Linked DNA regions of Homo sapiens: all the other regions are linked to region 2. The links are contacts of gene promoters, found by promoter capture Hi-C in blood cells and fetal thymus (Javierre and others, 2016). All regions are on one chromosome and are shown on one strand. Each heading gives the region's core, a stretch centred on a gene start or on the middle of the fragment in contact. The rest is flanking DNA. Distances are from core to core; before and after follow the strand shown.

Region 1 (3,708 bases), core at 198-2,697, 570 kb after region 2:
GCTCCCCCTTGCTTTTAAAGCTAAGTCCAAACTCCTTATGATTGCTGACAAAGGTTGGCCATGGCCATCAGCCCAGGGTGTCACCTGCTATTCCCCTCCTCACACTCAGGTCCAGCCACAGTGAGGTCCTTTTAGGTGAGATCTGGTCTGACAGTATCAATCAGATCTCCCCCTGTGGTTGTAAAGATGACTCAACTGATAGACAACCCTGAATATCTCCAGGGAGGGTTCCATTTTGCACCTCTCTATAGAGCCAGGATACTTAGTGGTTATGAATATTTTATGCAAATTTCAATTATTCAGGGACCAATAATCTAATTGTATATTACAAGATCACTTATGTCTCCTCCTCTCTGACCTGCTTACTTTTAGTCAACTCCTCCCTAATATAAGTATATAAACAATGCACAAACATATTTTCCAAAACAGTCTTCATTTGCTCACTCAGTAACTACTTCCTGACCATCTGCTCTGTGCCCAGCACTGCACAAGATCCCGGGACTATAAGGCACAAACCACAAGGCAGTCACAATATCTTCCCTCATGGAACATATATTCTAGTAGGAAGATGGGCTTTAACAACAAATCATACAATTAATTATTTGTTGATGATTTTGTAAAATATTATGAAGGAGAAGAACCAGGTGCAAGGAGAGCATATAGCTGTCTAGTCTGGGGGGAAAGGGATACTTTTTTGAGAAACTAACTGTGAGCTGAGACCTGAATGACAAGCAAGAATTAAATCCACAGCAAGGGCAGGCAAGGAGGAGGCATTCAGGCAGAGGGAACAGCATTTGCACAGGTCCACATGGAAGGAGGATGAATGTTTGAGGAGGCTACTGTGGCTGCAGCACAGAGGAGGGTGGGAGAGAACTAAAAAATCAATCCAGGAAGGCAGGGCCAGAGTCCTCAGGCCTCGCAGCCCAGTGCTGCTCAAACTATGTATTTGCAACGTGTCAAGGACTGACACTTTTGTGAAATACAATAAAAATGAGTTACTAGAAAATTGAAATTAAAAGACATACAAAATATGAGCCCAAATGTTTTACCACTAGTTTTAACACATATAAAATTATTCTACCAGTTACTGTAAAAGTTTTTAAATGCTTGACCTCTATTTGTGTCCCTTCTCATGGCCTAACCATAACAAACAGCTCATACACCAGCTCTTGAGACCATACTTTGAGTAGCACAGTGGACAGGAAGCCATCAAAGGGTTCTAAGCATAGGTGTAGCAAATTCAGAGTTGTGTTTTTCAAAGATCATTCTGGCTGCTGAATGGAGAATGGATTTGGGGTGGGAGGGGCAATTGGGGCTATTGGAGATGTCTTAGTGAGAGATCATGTATCTTAGAAAGAACAATATTTAATACTCGTGACAACCTATGAAGTAGGCATCAACATCTATTATAAAGTGGAAATTTAAGGTCATCCCCAGAAGTAGAATTCACATTTCCAAAAACAGTGAATCCAGACTCCCTGAAGCCTTATTTAAACGCAGTCCTTATTAAACACCACCTTATTGGTGACCTTATAACAAGATCTTTTTTGTTGCTTCTGTAAATAGCCTTTCTATGCCATTCACAGCTGTACTGGCCTTTACCGAAACCCCACAATGCTCCAACAGCCTTACGCGCCTTCCAGAGAATACAGCTGCCATTCTTCAAGCAAATGTCTCACAATGAATGAATCCCCAGAGGTAGAAAGAGAATCTGCTTATAATAGCCTGTTCTTTTCACTGCTCTCTCATCTCTCTTAAATGGATGGATTTCCAAAGGGTCCTGATTACTTTTAGGAGACAATTGAGTTTATGCAGCTGGGGAAAGAGAGGATTCAGGGAAAGCCAAGATGATTTCAGTCTAATTCAAATGAATATTTCTGTGGCATAAGCAATGTGCCAGGCATTGAGCTAGATATGGAGGTTACAGACATGGGGAGATGATGTATAAACAATAAAGGGCGCTGCTGCACAACAAACACAATACGCAGACACACACGTATAAGCAGAGCCCAGGAAAGGGAGTGTCCACTCTAAGGTCAGAGGACAGAGATCAGAGAATTTGATCAGAGATCAATGACTGTGATCAGAGATCAGTGACTGATTCACTTTTAAAATAGGAAAAGGGATTTTCCTAGGAGATAAGCCTGAGAACACCATCCTAGGGAGAGGGATCAGCATGACGCATTTGGAAAACGTAGGCAGCTCACTACTGAGAAAATGCATGGGAATGAGGGAAATGGAAGAAGGCAGGACAGGGACAGTGAATCCCAAAGGGTCTCATGCACCACTGAAACAATGAAATGAGGCGATACGGGGCGTATCAGAGGATCTGGACTGGGCTAGACTCCAAGAGTACATTTGAGGACAGGTTATTGTTGGCGCATTGTTGCAGGTGAAAGAGAACAAAAGAGTAGTTCTGTCCATATGACACTCCTCCATGGATACCTCTAGAAACAACAGGATGAGACTCTGAGGGAGCTGGAGGTCCTATGTTATGCAGGTGAGGACCAAGGCCAGTGACATTTGACTTGCTACTATGACCTCACTGGAACTGACAGGTCCAGGAAACAAGTCCCCTGCACATTCATGAGAAGGCACAGAACTTTGTGTGTTGGCCCTGGTGGAAAAAGCACAACTCTCCTCTATCAGACCTCCTGAGAGAGCAGGAAAACAACCCTCTCCCTTTTCCTCCATAACTTTAAAATGTAGCCAGAAAGCCCGATATCTTCCTTCACTGATGTCATCATATTCCAAAAGCAATAAATAAATGCAGTTTTCTAGGTAGATAATGAAGAGCAAGAGATTATAACATTTTCTCTACTATTCATCAGAGACAGCACCAACTTGGGGAAATCGATGCAGAGTAAGTGTGTATGTTTTTGTGTGTCTGTGTGTGTCATGTATGTGTATATGCATGTGTGTATATGAATGTGTACACACATGCCCAAGTGAGAGAGGAGAAGGCAGAGGAGATCTCAGAAACCCCTGCTACCAAGGAGTTATACTCCACTCCAAGAAGGGCTGCACTACTCAGGGGTCTAAGACCCTGCAATCAACTCTATGCTTCCAACAAGCACCCCTCTTCCAATTCCCCCAGACCCCACCCAAATTCACTCAGTAGACAATGGCTGCCCCAGAAAGTCCAGTTCATGCCCTTAAATCTGACTTGCAAAAAATCAAACAAACATTTTTCCTTTCTTCTTAGGAATCTGCCAAATGCAGCCAGCCTAAGTTAGATGAAACATGAACCTTTCCCCATTGCCAAAGTATTCCCAGAAGAGCTCAGAAACCCAAGTCTCTGTTTTGGAAATCACCCACATTGATAACAAGAGGTCCCAGAGGCTAGTAAGGGCCCAGCGCGTGAACCCAGGGTGGCTGACGTCACTTTGCAAAGCTCTTAAGAGCATTAATGAGTTCATGGGAGTCAAGGCCTCTCAGATGGGAGACACCAAGATAAACCGCCTGGATTTATTTCTCTGCCAGTGGGGTCCTGTCCCACATCCTTCCCTCTCTCACTGAGAGAGCAGCAGACGCAGGGGAGGGGAAGGAGCCTGGGCTTTGGATTTGCATAGACCTCAGTTTGCATGTGGCTAGGCCACACTCAAACTTTTTAACTTGAGAGCGCATCAGAAACACTTGGCCTCTGGCTTCAGGATCATTTAATCATGAAACATTAGATGGAGCCATAGTTTTACATTGGGCACTGGG
Region 2 (3,570 bases), core at 816-3,315:
CTACCTACTGTATTATTCCATTATTAAAACATTCTTGAATTGACAAAATTATAGAAATGGAGAATAGATTCATGGTTGCCGAGTTTAAAAAGTGATTGGGAGCAGGAGGTTAGGAAGGAACGGAGGGGGGCATGGCTATATAACGGCAAGATAAGGGAGGCTTGTGGTGACAGAAATGTTCTGTATATATTCATGTAAATATCAACATACTGGTTTTGATATTGTAGGATAGTTTCATAAGATGTTACCATTGGATATAACTGCTTACGTATAGGAGATCTCCCTGTATTATCCCTCACAACGACATGTAGATCTATTACCTCAAAACAGTTTAATTCAAAAGAAGAATTCAAGGATTTCAGAAGGAAAGTATATCTTTTCCACTCAAGTGTGGACTGAAGATGCTGCTAACTCATTGGCCAACAAGGCTGTTGTTAAGAAGATAAAGTAAGGCAGGGTTTAATGCCTAGGTGATGGGTTGATAGGTCCAGCAAACCACCATGGCACACGTTTACCTATGTAACAAACCTGCACGTCCTGCACATGTGTCCCAGCACTGAAAATAAAATAAAATTTAAAAAATGAAGAAGATAAAGCAGGCAGTTTTGAACACAGACCTGCTTCTAGGCCCTGTCCCTCAACATCTAGGGCCTTCCCTTCCTAGACAAGAGCATCACCTTTCAGCAACCCTCATCTCTTCCCAGGAGGTCCCAATAAGGATCAACACAAAATGGAACAGGCAAAGAAGTCCATTCTCTGCTTATCTGTTACCATGGCAAAAGTCTAACCCTAGGAGTCAACCTCTTGGTGAGTTTACTATGGTTCTAGCCCTGTTATTTGGGATCCTGGCAAGTGGGAGGGAGGCACCAACAAACACATTGCCAGTGGCAAGCAGGCAGTTGAAACCAAGGGGTTGCCAGGGACCTGCTCTGCAGGGAACCTCAGGTAAGACTGGAAAAAATATGGATGTGTGGATGGTGCTCACGTATCTTCTGTGAGAACATATTTCTTGGGCATCACTGGGTGGTCCATTGGCTGCTATCAGGGGGTCTGGAGCCCTTCTAGTGGGTCCTGATACCTACCTGATCTCCCAGACTGGCCTTCCTGCTTTGGAGTCAAAACTGCTGCTCCTCCAAACCCCAGTGGGCTCTCCTCCAGTGAGCAGACCCAAAACATAGAACCTTCCTCTCCAAAAGACAGCATGTCTCCCGCCTCTCCCACCTTGCTTAAACATCCACTCTTGAGTGCCTACGTATTCCTAATATTGGTACATTTGGCTTTGTTCCTTTGAAGGAGGAAATTTTTTCTGGCCTGCACACTATAACCTATAGAGTTGGGGGCTGCTTTCTTTGCTATGTGCTGTTTGAAATGCTCTCTTTGCTGAGAGGTATTGCAAAGTGGTTACAAGCGTGGACCCTAGCATTTCATTACCCCATTCAAACCCTAGCTTCACCATGTGGGGAGACCTTGGTCAGATGATTTGGTAACTCTTGAGCCCCAGCTTCCTCATCAATAAAATGGGATGATGACTGTAGCTCATCTCACAAGGTTGGCCTGAGGGTTAAGTAAGTAGATATGTGTGAAGTCTCTAGAAGAGTGTCTGGCATTTTGGTAGCCTTACATAAATGTTAGCAGTAGCTACCCTTCTCTTCCTCCTCATGATAGTACTTTGAGAAGCAGCAATAGTGATTGAAAGTACTCTGGATTTAAACTTAAATAGCTTTGAGAGTCGAAATTAGCTGTGGCCTCTCTTGGGCATATCACTTAACTTCTTGTGCCTCAGTTTCCATATTTACAAAATCAGGCCAAAAAAAATCTATCGCATGGGAATTCAATGATGTAGCTGGTTTGTCTGAATTTCTCTGGTGTGCACACCGGAAACTCAAAGCACGACTCTATACTGTACTTTTGTAATGTACAATGATTGCCGTGGAGAGCAGCGATGGAGATGTTAGTCCTCTTTCCTTCTCCATCCCCCTTGCCCTGGTGCCTGTGAAACAGAGCATCCCCATGGCAACAGCAGCAGCTGGTCCCTAGATAAGAGGAGCTGGAGCCGGCCAGCAGCAGCCACTGCCGCAGAGGAGCCAGGCCCAGCCTCGGTGAGCACACACGCCCTCCCTGTCTCTCGCCTTCGCTTCCCTGCATCTGCGCTGATTGGTAAGTGCTTCAGATTTTTACTCCAAGAACTTTTGTGGTGAGAAAAGCAAGTTTCCAGTCAGTTACTGGGACAAAGAAGGCTGTAGCTGGTGGCACGGGGTTGTGCTTTATGGAGCAAGGCTAAGCTGGGGCCGAGTGGACAGCAGAAAAAGTTACCACTTTCAAGTCATTCTTCCAAGGGAGGGAATGGAGTTCTGTAAAAGACTGAACCCTCACAAACTCATTTGCAAAGTTTCAAGATGAAGTTGGTGTATCTGCATATTCACACAGGATAGAGAGGTTTATCTTCCAAGGCTGGGGAAAGTACAGAAAGTATGCTTCTCAAAACACATTCTCCATGCCCTACTTTAAGTCAGTCTCTCCTCCAGGAATACTGCCAATTTAGGTTTTCTAAATGAACAAATCTGATTTTAAAAGACGGTACTTTTTGACCTGAATTCAATCCTCTGGTTAAAAAGAGGTTTGACAATGAATATGTATTTTACATAGCCAGAGGGTGCATTAACGAGATACCACATAGGCTGTGGATACAACCTTCTACCCTTTTATTCCATCCAGTAAATCAAGACCTGATTACTTTGGGGGATATTCTTCAGAATACCGTATGGTAAGCTAAGTGTCAACTCGCTTCTGAGAATCAGTTCTATTATGTTCCCAAGATTTAGAAATGGGTTGGTTTTTGTCTTGAACTATTCTCATCTCATTACCAGCTTCAGAGAAGGCCAGAGATGGGATAAAGAGATAATTCTGATAGATCAATTTAGATAGACATATAATCACAAATGGAGGACTGAAAGATCCAAGAAGGTCCCTCACACTCACGAAAATATCAGTGTGTAGGACCTGGGCTCGGGACTCCATGCACATTCTATGGGTAATACTCTCAACAACCCTGGAGAAGAGCCACTATCTTCCCCCATTTAACAGATTTGAAAACTAAATTTTTGAGAGAACAGATAACTGTCCCAAGTTCACCCAGCTAGAGAGTGGTACAAGCAGCCAAACGTTGGCTTCTACCTTATATTGACTCACAGCATCCAATCTTAAAGTTGAGAGGAATTTTCTTCCCATAATTTAAACCGCATATTCTCACATCCAACTGAGAAAACCGCTCAATGATAAGAGAAAAGACAAAAAATCCAGACCAGCTTCTGACCACACACTGAACCAACTAATGTGTTTCAGCTCCGCTGGTGTGCCTGCCTTTCTGCAATATAGTGGGGTCCCTTTTCTGGCACCCAGTTCCTTCCCCCTTTCAGTTCCTGTTCTCAAAAGAGAAGGTGACCTTTGTCATTAACAATCCCTGTGTATTGTGACATCAATTTACATATTGCTGCTCTTAGTGGTATTTGCATTTACAAGTATCTCTCTGTAAAAAGAAAGGTTTTGTCCCTTGTGAAAAGGAAGGTAAGG
Region 3 (3,602 bases), core at 260-2,759, 730 kb after region 2:
ATGACTTTTTTTTTTTTTTTAACCAGTGATAACTGCTTAGCCTTAGTGGTAAGGAAGCCCTACTAAAAACATCCCACTACTGCTAATAAAATCTCACATGTCTAATAATAAAAACACCTGTTGAGCACTGACTCTGTGCCCAGCACCATGCTGAGAGCTTTGCATTAAACCCTTAAACTCACAAACAACTCAATAAATGGAATTTTTTGCATCCCCATTTTACAGATGAGGAATCTGAAGTTCACAGGGTTCGAGTAACTTGCCCCATTAATCATGGGCAGAGCCCAGATTCTAACTCCATCTCTCTCACTGCAGAGCCTGCCCGTGTAACTATAAGCAATATTAACTCCCAGGGAAAAGTTCTATTTTTTTTTTGGTACTATAATCCCAATTTAGTAAAAAAAAAAAAAAAAAATCATACTGTGCACATAAAAAAGGAGAGGGTTATAAGCAAGCATCAAAGTATCTGTTGTATTAAGATGATGATCTTTTAGGCGCTTTCTTCATTTATCTCAAGTTTTTCTTGATATTGTAATTCTATTATTTTACTTGTATTTCAACTTTAACCAAACAGAAATCATGTGACTCAACGTAGTAATTTGAATGCTATCTCTTGTTGACCTATCAATTTATTTGCCAATTATATCTAGACTGCAACATTAAAATATTATAAAATGTACTTCTGGAAACTTGTGTTTTTGTTTGTTTGTTTTTGTTTTGTTTTGGTTTGGTTTTGAGACAGAATCTCACACTGTGACCTAGGCTAAAATGCAGTGGTATTTAGAGCTCACTGCAGCTTCAAACTCCTGGGCTCAAGTGATCCTCCAGCCTCAGCCTCCCAAAGTGCTGGGACTACAGATGTGAACCATCATGCCCAGCCTTACTTCTGGAAACTTCCTCAGTACTATGGTCTTCCCCACATACTATTTCTTTCCATGGCAGTAGCAAGTTGGCCAATTATTTTTTTATCAGCCTCAAGCTGCTACTGATGTCTCAGGCAGTTCAGCACAAGGCTTAAGACCTGGGTTCAAGTAAGACCCCCGTACTCACTAGATGTGCAACCTCAGATAATTCCCCAAGCTTCATTGTCCTCATCTAAGAAAAGGAGATAACAATGGCACTTACCTCTTAGTTTAATGCTGGTGCATGAAGTATGCCTGGCACAGGGTAAGTGCTCAATAAATGTTAACGTCTATTGTTCCTATGAAATATAATGATATGATTGTTTTATTTGCACTTTTTCAATCATTAAAAAAAGTCACTTTCCAAATAGCATCCTTGCGTGACAATAATCAGATATGGGAAGATACGGCAGCACACATTTCCAGATTAAGATTCACTTTTTCCTTCAGAACAGAGGCTTTATTTTTGAAGGGATGCCCTCATATTTGTAACATTTTTTGTCTCTTGGACCAGAAGAAGGTACTGAGTTATTAGGGTGTCAAAATCCAGGAAGTAATAAAGTCCCAAACAAACAAACAAACAAAAAATTAAAAATTAAAGTCCCAAAGAGCAGCCAGACAGGGCATGAAAAACTTTTTCCAAACTGCCCTGCATGTAATCTTCAAAGCAGCATGTAAATGAGGTCCACCCGACTCCTGGAGCATTTAAGCTGCAAGCAAAACCCACTCAGATACCAAGAAGAATAAATGAATCTGTTATGTGTGTACTGATCTAATGGCTTCTTTTTTCCCATTTTGTCTTCAGTTTTACTGAGGTCTCTTAGGAAGATCTCTGACATCAGTAAGGGAGCCCAGTACTCTGACTGGCAGAGGAAAAAATGGCAACCTGTTAGTTTAATTAACAAACTAAAATTAATAATTGGTTAAAATATTTTTTAAATATCTTTACTCAGGTTCAAGGAGTTTAAAGTGGAGGTGATATCTGAGATGGGCAAGTTTGAAATCTACAAGCTGGGGAGAAGAAAATACAGGGGAACAAAGCTTGGAAGAAAGAGCCTGTTACTGAATTTAGACTTCTACTTTAATTCATATATTGTTCAAGTTAACAATTTCCTAGTATCCTCCAGAATATTTATAAGACAGAACTTGCTAAAAAGAGTACTCAAAAAATAGTAGGTATAGAGAACAACAGAGAGAAAGAGAGAGAGCAAAAAAGCAGCCCCTCTAACTACTCCCTCCCTACCCGGAGAGTCTCCTTTGGAGGTTAACTTCAGCTCCCTCAGGAGAGTGAGCCCTTGGGGTATGGGGTGACCTCATTAGTAGCTTCACAAAAATCCAGTCATCTGAGAATAAACCTGAAATTAGTTACTGTTCTGGCAGTGAGTGGAGGGCACGGCAGGCTCCTGCTACTTCTAGACTAAAGAATGTTCCCAACCTTCCTGGCAGTGGCTGCCTAGCCCTGGGCTTCGGCTCCCTCCTTCTGGGAAATGACAATATTTTGCAACTTGGCCACATTTTTCCTTGGCTGAGAAGGAAAAACCCAGGGCTTTGCTGCTAACATAGATGCAAAAGAGCATGCCTCTTGCGCTCTTGGTGCTTGTGCTCCACCATGACAGCTTAGACACCACCAGTGCGGAGATGTAAGATGCACACACAGAGGCCAGGATCTGGTTCCTAATCCTAACTCATCCTGTCCGCTGTGTGACCAGAGCAAGTCCTGGCACTACTCTGAACCTCAGTTTCTTTATTTGTAAAAATGGGGTAATAGGCTGGGCATGGTGGCTCACACCTGTAATCCCAGCAGTTTGGGAGGTGGAGGTGGGCAGATCACCTGAGGTCAGGAGTTCAAGACCAGCCTGGCTAACATGTCAAAACCCTGTCTCTACTAAAAATACAAAAATAGCCAGGTGTGGTGGCATATATATATATATATATATATATATATATATACACACACACACACACACACACACACACACACACATATATATGTGTATATATATACACATATATATGTGTATATATATACATATATATGTATATATACATATATATGTATATATATGTGTATATATATACATGTGTATATATATGTGTATATATATACATGTGTATATATATGTGTATATATATACATGTGTATATATATGTGTATATATATATGTGTATATATATGTGTATATATATATGTGTATATATATGTGTATATATATATATACACACACACACACACACACACATATACACACACACATGTAATCCCAACTACTAGTGAGGCTCAGGCAGAAGAATCACTTGAACCCAGGAGGTGGAGGTTGCAGTCAACCGAGATGGTGCCACTGCACTCCAGCCTTGGCAACAGAGCAAGGCTCCATCTCAAAAAAAAAAGGGGGGGTGGTAATAATAGTGCTTGTCTTAGCTACCTCAAAGGTTTGTCGTGAGATTTGAGTAAGATTGTAATTGTTCAAGTAATGTGAAAACTGTGCAAATGCAAGTTATTTGTATTTTTTTTAATTTGACAAACTAAAATTAATAACTGGTTAAAATATTTTTTTTAAGTATCTTTACTCAGGTTCAAGGAGTTTAAAGTGGAGGTGATATCTGAGAAGGGCAAGTTTGAGCAGAGCCCACATCTGTTTCCTGTAAGATTTGCTCATTAGCTTCAATTGCTTCCAACCATGGCTCAATGTGAGAGTCCGT
Region 4 (3,865 bases), core at 203-2,702, 520 kb after region 2:
GCAGTGAGGAATGGGGCTCATGAGAAGCGAGTGTTTTATTACACAATTTCTAAAATATGAGCACTTCATGCTCTTTCATTATCGTACATTATTACAGTTCTATAAAAATCATTTCTAGGAAATCAATCCCAACGTTTCAAAGCCTTCCAAAAAGAGCTGGGAGGCAGAGTTTAGAAGAAGCCTGTAAATAGAGAAATTATACTTTCAGCTTTATGTAATAAGATTTACTATGGCACTGTCCACACTCAGACCTAGTCAACCCTGCATGAGGAATGCAGTGACTAGGGATTTATAGAGTTCCTCCCTGGCCACAATTTCAAAAGACAGCAACATTTTTGACTGACCTGGAAAAAAGTCAGATGGCACGTCAGCTACTAAGTCTTTTTGTAGTCAATACTAGAGAGGGAACGATGAGGTGACTTTTAGGAAGGCAAAAAAAAAAAAATTAATGTAACAATGTCCAATTTTGAACATTTTCCAGGTGCGAAGACAGAGGCCCAGATAGTGTGAGTGAAATTACTTTTAGTGAAAGCCAGTGAGGCAGTGATAAATCCGTTTCTATTTACAGTTGTACGATTTCTCCACCTGGTGCATAGTGGGTTTGGGGAGCGTCTCCACTCCACCCTCATCCGTCTCTAGTATTTTCCCCCCCCTTCTTTGGAATCCAGGTTTTCGTTCCAGGAAGTGCATTAACTTGCGGGATAATTTGCTGATCACACTGGTACAGAAACCATTGAGAGGCTTTAGACTCCTACTCATAGGGATCAAGACCTGGAGACAAAGGAGTCAAGGGAAGCCCCATGGCCTAACCACAGCCCTAGGAATATCCCCAATGCCTAAGGAAACCCATTCAATCCATCTAAGCTTCAAAGTGTCACCAAACTGAGGAAAAGCCAGTGGAGTTAGTCCATAAGTCCACTTTGAATGGTGATGATGCCTTCATAGCTACAAGCATTTCACGTACCTCTCCTCACTTTATCTTCATAAAACATTCATTGAAAGATTGAAAGGATAGTCCTAGCACAGCACTTCTCAAACTCTAATGTGAACAGGCATCCCCTGTAAATGTGTTAAAATACAAATTCTGACTCAATAGGTCTGAAGGGGTGGTCGGGGGACTGAGGCTTCATGGTTCTAAAAAGCCCCCAGGTGATGTCGATTCTGCTGCTCTGAGGACCATACTTGGAATAGCAAAGGCTTAGAGCACAATTTGGAAACCACAGTTCTAAGGATTGAAAAGGCAGTAGCAATGAGTAGCTCACCAGCCTGGGCTCAAGTGGGATGTTAACCAGATGATATTTCCTGCATTACTATTTTATTAACACCTGACAGAATTGAAGAGCTATACCGCATGGGGGAAAGATCTCTGGAGAACATTTTCTGATGGAGACCAGGAAAGGAGTGAAACAAGATTTACTCACGAGAGAAGCGGGCCAGTGGTCTGGCATTCTTGTCTCCAGCTTCATTTGCAACTAGAAAAAAAAAAGAGGATGCAATTTAAATAAATAAAGCAATGTGTCCACCAAATATGCCCCAATACAGCCAATCCCCTGGATGCTTTGACATCGGGCTGTATTTAAGAGTCTTTGTAAGTGAATAAAAGCAACTTTACTCCCTCCGTGTCTGTATTTCCAAGGCTGCCCTCAACACCTAAATGAAGTCAAATGTCTCAATCATTTTGATTAGAATATTTGGATGAAGCTAGAGAGGATCTCAACAACATCCAGTTTAGTAGGCCTAAAGAAGTTAATTGGCTTACATCCACTTAGTAAGAGGCACACACACCAGCTTCCAAGCTAGTGGACGTCCTTTGGCCCCAAGAGTCCTCTAACAGTGCTGTCTGTCAACATGCAAATGCACCCCAAGCATCGAAATGAATCTGGTTTCCTAGGATCCATAGGGGCAAAGCTGAGGCAGGAATTTCGGAAGATAAATAAAAAGCTGGCTTTATGTTCAGAAAGATATTAAATTTAGATGCTAACAAACAGGGAAGTTCATTAATAGAATTGTTCAGAAAACTGCCCTAGAAACCTTACCCCTAAAGCTTCTCAGCAGGGCAGGCTACCTCCTACGAAAAGTCTCCATATAACTTATCATTGGATAGAGTCATATTTAATGTCCCTTATAACTTATGAACCCATTGTATTGGGTAAAAGAGATTGGTTGTTAAGGGGAAACACAGGTTTCACTCATTTTAAATACCATGTTTCATGCCCATAAACATTATACCTTGGTTGTTGTATGTATACATAGCAGACAGACATGGGTATTTGTGATCTACTTGGATAAATGCCTAAAGCAATCAACAAGAAACACCTGTTCATTCTAGCTGAGAAAAAAGCATTCAATGCATCAACAGAATAAAGGAGATTGCTAACGTCATCATGAATGTATGAGAAGTTGCAGCAAAAGGACAAAACCAATACAGTAACTACTTTCTAAACTTATTATATCGTTTTACAAAGAATGAAAGAAGTCGAAAAATTTATTCCACCCTCTCACAAAGGTAAGTATTTTAAAATTTACTGCATTTGAGCAATTTTTTAAAAATTAATGGATTCCATCTCAGTATATTTTGTTTTTCTGGCATTAGCTTTGCCTCACCATCTACACTCTATTACTAATAAGGCCAATTACTAATTTGGGCAATTTGTCTATTACTAATTTGGGCAATTTTTAAAAATTAATAAATTACATCTTAGTATCTTTTGTTTTTCTGGGTATTAGCTTTGCTTTATCATCTGCACTCTTACTATATATTACTATATATAAGATGTTATATAAAAATGACCAGCAGGGGGAGGCAATAATTCATCCAGCTCCCATCGTCTGTCACACCGCAGCATTTCAAAAAAAGAAAGAAATGGGCCTGGCGCGGGTGGCTCACGCCTGTAGTCCGGCACTTTGGGAGGTCGAGGCGGTCGGGTCACGAGGTCAGGAGACCAGCCTGCCCAAGATGGTGAAACCCCATCTCTACTAAAAATACGAAAAATTAGCCGGGCGTGGTGGTGGGCGCCTGTAATCCCAGCTACTCGGGAGGCTGAGGCAGGAGAATCAATTGAACCTGGGAGGTGGAAGTTGCAGTGAGTCGAGATTGTGCCACTACACTCCTGCCTGGGAGACAAAAGCGAAACTCTATCTCAAAAAATAAAAAGAAAGAAATTAAATAATTACTACACTCTGCACCAAATACATTTTAAAAGAAAAGATTTCCATTTCAAAAAAAAGATCTAGAAGTTCTAAGAACAATGGCTATTCTTGCTGTCTTCTAAAATGTTTTGTAGAACCACCACATGAATATAAATAATTCACATTCATATTCCTGCCTCCACTCAGAGCTACATCCAAAGTATTTCAGAACAATGGTCAACTATCTCAGTAGAAGTCTTTAACCACAACTGCATATCCTCACATCAGGAAAATTTGGATGTTATCATAGCTAAGTATTAAAAAAATCTTATGAGCACTTGGAAAGCTCTCAAGAGTTGTCTATAACCAAAGTTATCTTATAATAAAAAAAAAGGGGGGGGTAAGAAAAGAGAGAGGGGAGGGAGGGACGGAGGAAGAACAAATGAGTCCCAGTTAGGTATAGACATGAATTTCCATGGCCTTGAGTTCAACTTATTTCTTCCATTTAGACACCGCAAATGTCTGAAGAAAGAAATAGAGCTGGGTGGGGCATAGTGGCTCACACCTGTAATCCCGGCACTGTGGGAGGCTGAGGCAGGAGGAACACTTGAGCTCCCGAGTTTGAGACCAGCCTGGGCAACATAGTGAGACCCTGTCTCCACAAAAAAAGTTTTAACAACTTAGCCGGGTGTGGTGGAGCATGCCTGTAATGCCAGCTACTCGGGAAGCTGCAGCA
Region 5 (3,932 bases), core at 90-2,589, 520 kb before region 2:
AAGTAATATTGAGGCTGGGTGCAGTGGCTCATGCCTGTAATCCCAGCACTTTGGGAGACTGAGGTAGGCAGATCACTTGAGGTCAGGAGTTTGAGACCAGCCTGGCCAACATGGTGAAACCCCGTCTCTACTAAAAATACAAAAATTAGCAGGACGCGGTGGTGGGTGCCTGTAATCCCACCTACTCGGGAGGCTGAGGCAGGAGAATCACTTGAACCCGGGAGGTGAAGGTTGCAGTGAGCTGAGAGTTGAGATCACACCACTGTACTCCAGCCTGGACGACAGAGTGAGACTCTGTCTAAAAAAAAATAAAAAAAGTAATATTTACTTACATAGCTGCTGTGCCTACATAAGATTTTAATGAGCACAAAATGTGACATGGAGTTGTTAAGTGGTAAATCTTTATTGAATGAATGAATTAATGATTTTAGCTGGCAGCCTCTCTTTATGCATTCTCATTTGGTCTTATTAAAAAATATATAATTCGTTTGAAATGGACAATGTACACTGTTCCCCTGCTGAATTCAAGTCATGAGTTTCATACTAGTGATTGTTTACATAATAATTTACTAAAAATAGTAAGAGTTTAGGATTTTTTTATGTGCTCTTTGAAGAAGCCAAGTGTGTTTTTTTTTATGTATTAATGTTGATTTGTCCATCCTACTCTGTTTTTACCATTTCATGCGGGCACTTTCTCTCTTGCACAGTTTAAAGCTTTCTTGCTCTCTTCAGGAGTATATTGCCAAAAATTCCTTATCAGTTCTCGTTAGACACCCTCTGCCTTATGCTGGTAGTCATCATGTTGGCATTGTAAAATGTAGCTTAAAAGTCCAATCCAGTTGTTCACTTATTCCAACCTCTTCTTTCTTCCACAGTCAGAACCTTCATGGGGGAAAAAGAGTTGAAAACACCCCCTGAATCTCATTTGCTTTCCTCTTCAGGTCCCCTGGGGCTGTACTCCAGGTTTCCCTGGCTTTGCATTTGTTCTCTATGAAATTATGTAAGCAGGAACAGCCCCAGGTGCTTGGAATGCTTGGTGGCTTCCTTCATGTGTGGGTTTACACATGGTGACAGAAGAGGGCAGCTGCTGGGGCAGCAATTTTTGTCTCTCCAGGGTCTCCACATGGACACCTTGTTTCTCCTTTGGATCTTCATTGGCCCTGCAATGAGTCAAACTTGCTAAACCCTGTGCTTCCCTCTGCCCCAGCCACAATCTCAGATGGAGCCTGACTTCAAATCTCTCACTGGTTGGTGGTTTGACCTTGAAGTTGGTAGACCTTGTCTGATCACCTGGGAAATGTAAGTTACTTCAGAGAGAGAATCAGTGAATTGTGAGTTGTGGGATCACAAGTCTAAAAAAAAAAAGCAGCTACAGGAGTTAATTATGCTAGTGTTTCTCCACCCATTTTGTTGATGAAAGAGCTTCCACATCATTGCCTGTCAGTCTAAGCATTGAGGTAAAAGACTCTCCCTTTGAAAATAGTCATTATATGAAAGTCTGGGAACCAGTATCAATATTTATTAGGGGGCACACACCCATCCTGTCCTGTTGTATCACAGATTTATAGCACAACCGTTTATCCTGGACTCCCTAAGCTCTTTCAAGGATTGTGTTAAAATTAAACCTGTCAGCTGTTCCTTGGGAGGATAACAAACTTTTAGGCATTCCTGTAGCTGACTTGCCTGCAAATGTATGGAAGTAGTTTCTTTAAAAAAATCTCTACTTAGCAAAACATTTCTTCTTTCATTTCTTTTATTTCCTCTTCCCCTGTGGTTCCTGGTGATTGATATTTGAATGTAGAGTTCCTCTGGGAAAGCCTGACTTATTCTTCTGCAACTACATAGGTTGAAAGAGGAGGAGATGTATGTTGCCCATTGTGTGAAGGGAAAAACAGAAAGATTAGCAATCTCTAGAAGCTGTACCAGGAGGCATAATAAATGTACAACTGTGAAAGAAAGAAAAAATAAGCTTTCTTTTAAAAATATTAATTTTGGAGAAAGATTACGTCAATCAGGAACATTAACAGAAGCTCAACATCCAATGCGAGGAACAAAAACTGATTTGATGATCCATGTGAACTGAAATTAGTGTCAGGGTGGATTTAGAAAGAACTAGCACGAGCCGGGCATGGTGGCTCATGCCTGTAATCCCAGCACTTTGGGAAGCCGAGACAGGCAGATCACCTGAGGTCAGGAGTTTGAGACCAGCCTGGCCAACATGGTGAAACCCTGTCTCTACTAAAAATGCAAAAATTAGCCAGGTGTGTCAGGCACCTGTAATCCCAGCTACACAGGAGGCTGAGGCAGGAGAATTGCTTGAACCCGGGAGGTAGAGGTTGCAGTGAGCCGAGATCGTGCCACTGCACTTCAGCCTGGGCAACAGAGTGAGACTTTGTCTCAAAAAGAAAGAAAGAAAGAAAGAAAGAACTATTATCGTGACTTCTTCCTGAAGGGAAATGCAAGCATTAGTCAACAGCCAAGTGTGTTGAGCTGTATACAAGTCATAATTCTCACTTTGGAATCTCCTAGAATTTTCTGGGAATAAGCATATAAGGTGTTCTTTGTTGAATGAGCTATTGAGTGAGTGAATGAATGGAGTGAACAGAAGAAGGTTGATGATACATCTCTAACCTGTCAGACTGCCCCTGGAATATTGTGCTCAACCAAAGGACCACTTAGATGGTGAACAGTCTGGGCACTATGTTCTGTGGGAATTTTGAAGAAATAGGAGAACATTGGTTTTGAGAAGGGACATTTAAGGCTATGGAGGTACCTCATGGCTACATTCAGATATTTAAAGCCTTAATAGATTAAACAAAAACTGAGCGTAAACTCAGGGTTGGGCACCATGCATGATGCTGGGGCCACGTAGAGAAGAATATGAATATGTCTCTGCCTTCTGGACACTTTTCATGCTGATTCTACTCACTTCTAAGCAGCAAATTAGGAATAATGGTGGCAGGTATAAGAGAGAAAGATTTCAGTTTAATGAAAGAGGACCTGTCCTAAATTGGAAGGGGCTGCTTAGGAGTCTTTAGCGTAGGAGAACCATGAGACTTTAGCTGCTCATGAAAGTTATCACGATAAGGGAACTTAGAGGTCACATTGCAAGTATTCAGGAAAGACTGGATGATCCCTTGTTTGGGCTGTGCTTGGACGGAATTCTCAGTTCCCTTTCTCTTCTCACGAATATGTGTTTCTGAATCATAAGGTTTGAGAAAATAAAAGAGCACAGAATAGCCAAGTAATAAAGGATTCATAGTTTGAGTCAATTAAAGCATAAATAATAATTGTTAATTTTTCGAGAGCTTACCAAGTGCTTGAGATGTTGGGCAGTATCTATCCTATGCAGTGCTACTATTTTATCTCCTTTTCACACCTGAGAAAACTGAGCTAAAGTAACTCGCCCAAAGTGACACAGCAGATACACTGCCATGTGACCGGAGGCTCATGCTCTACCCTCCAAGCTGTGCTGCCTTGCTCACCCACACTTTGCTTCATTTCTTAACTGAAACCTGCACTTGAGTGCCTTTCAGGAATGACACCTGCAAGGATTCTTGGGACTGTATTTAATTTGCTTCAACGTGCATAAGCTCATGTGAATGCATACCAAATGCGATCAAACTGTGGGAATGTGAGTCACTGTGGAAAATTGTTTAGAGCAAGAATTTTTAACGAGAGGTCTATGTCTGCATTTATGTGTATGTGCATGCATGTGCATGGATGTGGGGACTTGCACACGTGACAGTCTACGAAGAGATTCTGTATCTTTAATTAGGTTCTCAAAGGAATGACTGATAGCCTCACAACAGTGTAAGAATACTGACTTACGGTCTTCTCTAGCTTTGTGCAGCAAAGAGGGTCTGCCCATATATAAACTTTCATTCAGAATGGGAATCAGCTAGTTTAAAATGAAACGAAACAAACCAGCA

What was found. Contacts are between HindIII fragments. The CHiCAGO score rates a contact against its expected background, and 5 or more counts as called.
Region 1: a fragment that was not itself captured here is called in contact with the fragment with the promoter of PPP1R17 in region 2 in 1 of 17 cell types (neutrophils); the score reaches 5.2 in neutrophils.
Region 3: a fragment that was not itself captured here is called in contact with the fragment with the promoter of PPP1R17 in region 2 in 1 of 17 cell types (neutrophils); the score reaches 5.1 in neutrophils.
Region 4: a contact is called between a fragment that was not itself captured here and the fragment with the promoter of PPP1R17 in region 2, in 1 of 17 cell types (endothelial precursors). The highest score is 5.8, in endothelial precursors.
Region 5: a fragment that was not itself captured here is called in contact with the fragment with the promoter of PPP1R17 in region 2 in 1 of 17 cell types (endothelial precursors); the score reaches 5.5 in endothelial precursors.

What each region holds. Positions count from the first base shown.
Region 1 is chr7:32,251,787-32,255,494 of GRCh38, forward strand. It overlaps a transcript of PDE1C not described here. Among named protein-coding and RNA genes, the nearest start is that of PDE1C, 180 kb to the left of the region's middle. The HindIII fragment of the contact is 4,848 bases long and covers 1-3,708 here.
Region 2 is chr7:31,685,150-31,688,719 of GRCh38, forward strand. PPP1R17 (protein phosphatase 1 regulatory subunit 17) reads left to right here and starts at 2,066. Exons shown (of 5, transcript NM_006658.5): 1 at 2,066-2,157. It also overlaps a transcript of PDE1C not described here. The HindIII fragment of the contact is 9,056 bases long and covers 1-3,570 here.
Region 3 is chr7:32,417,274-32,420,875 of GRCh38, forward strand. It overlaps a transcript of PDE1C not described here. Among named protein-coding and RNA genes, the nearest start is that of LSM5, 71 kb to the right of the region's middle. The HindIII fragment of the contact is 863 bases long and covers 1,079-1,941 here.
Region 4 is chr7:32,208,068-32,211,932 of GRCh38, forward strand. It overlaps a transcript of PDE1C not described here. Among named protein-coding and RNA genes, the nearest start is that of PDE1C, 140 kb to the left of the region's middle. The HindIII fragment of the contact is 1,180 bases long and covers 863-2,042 here.
Region 5 is chr7:31,167,948-31,171,879 of GRCh38, forward strand. All of the region lies in intron 2 of LOC107986781 (a long non-coding RNA gene), which reads left to right. Among named protein-coding and RNA genes, the nearest start is that of ADCYAP1R1, 120 kb to the left of the region's middle. The HindIII fragment of the contact is 1,255 bases long and covers 713-1,967 here.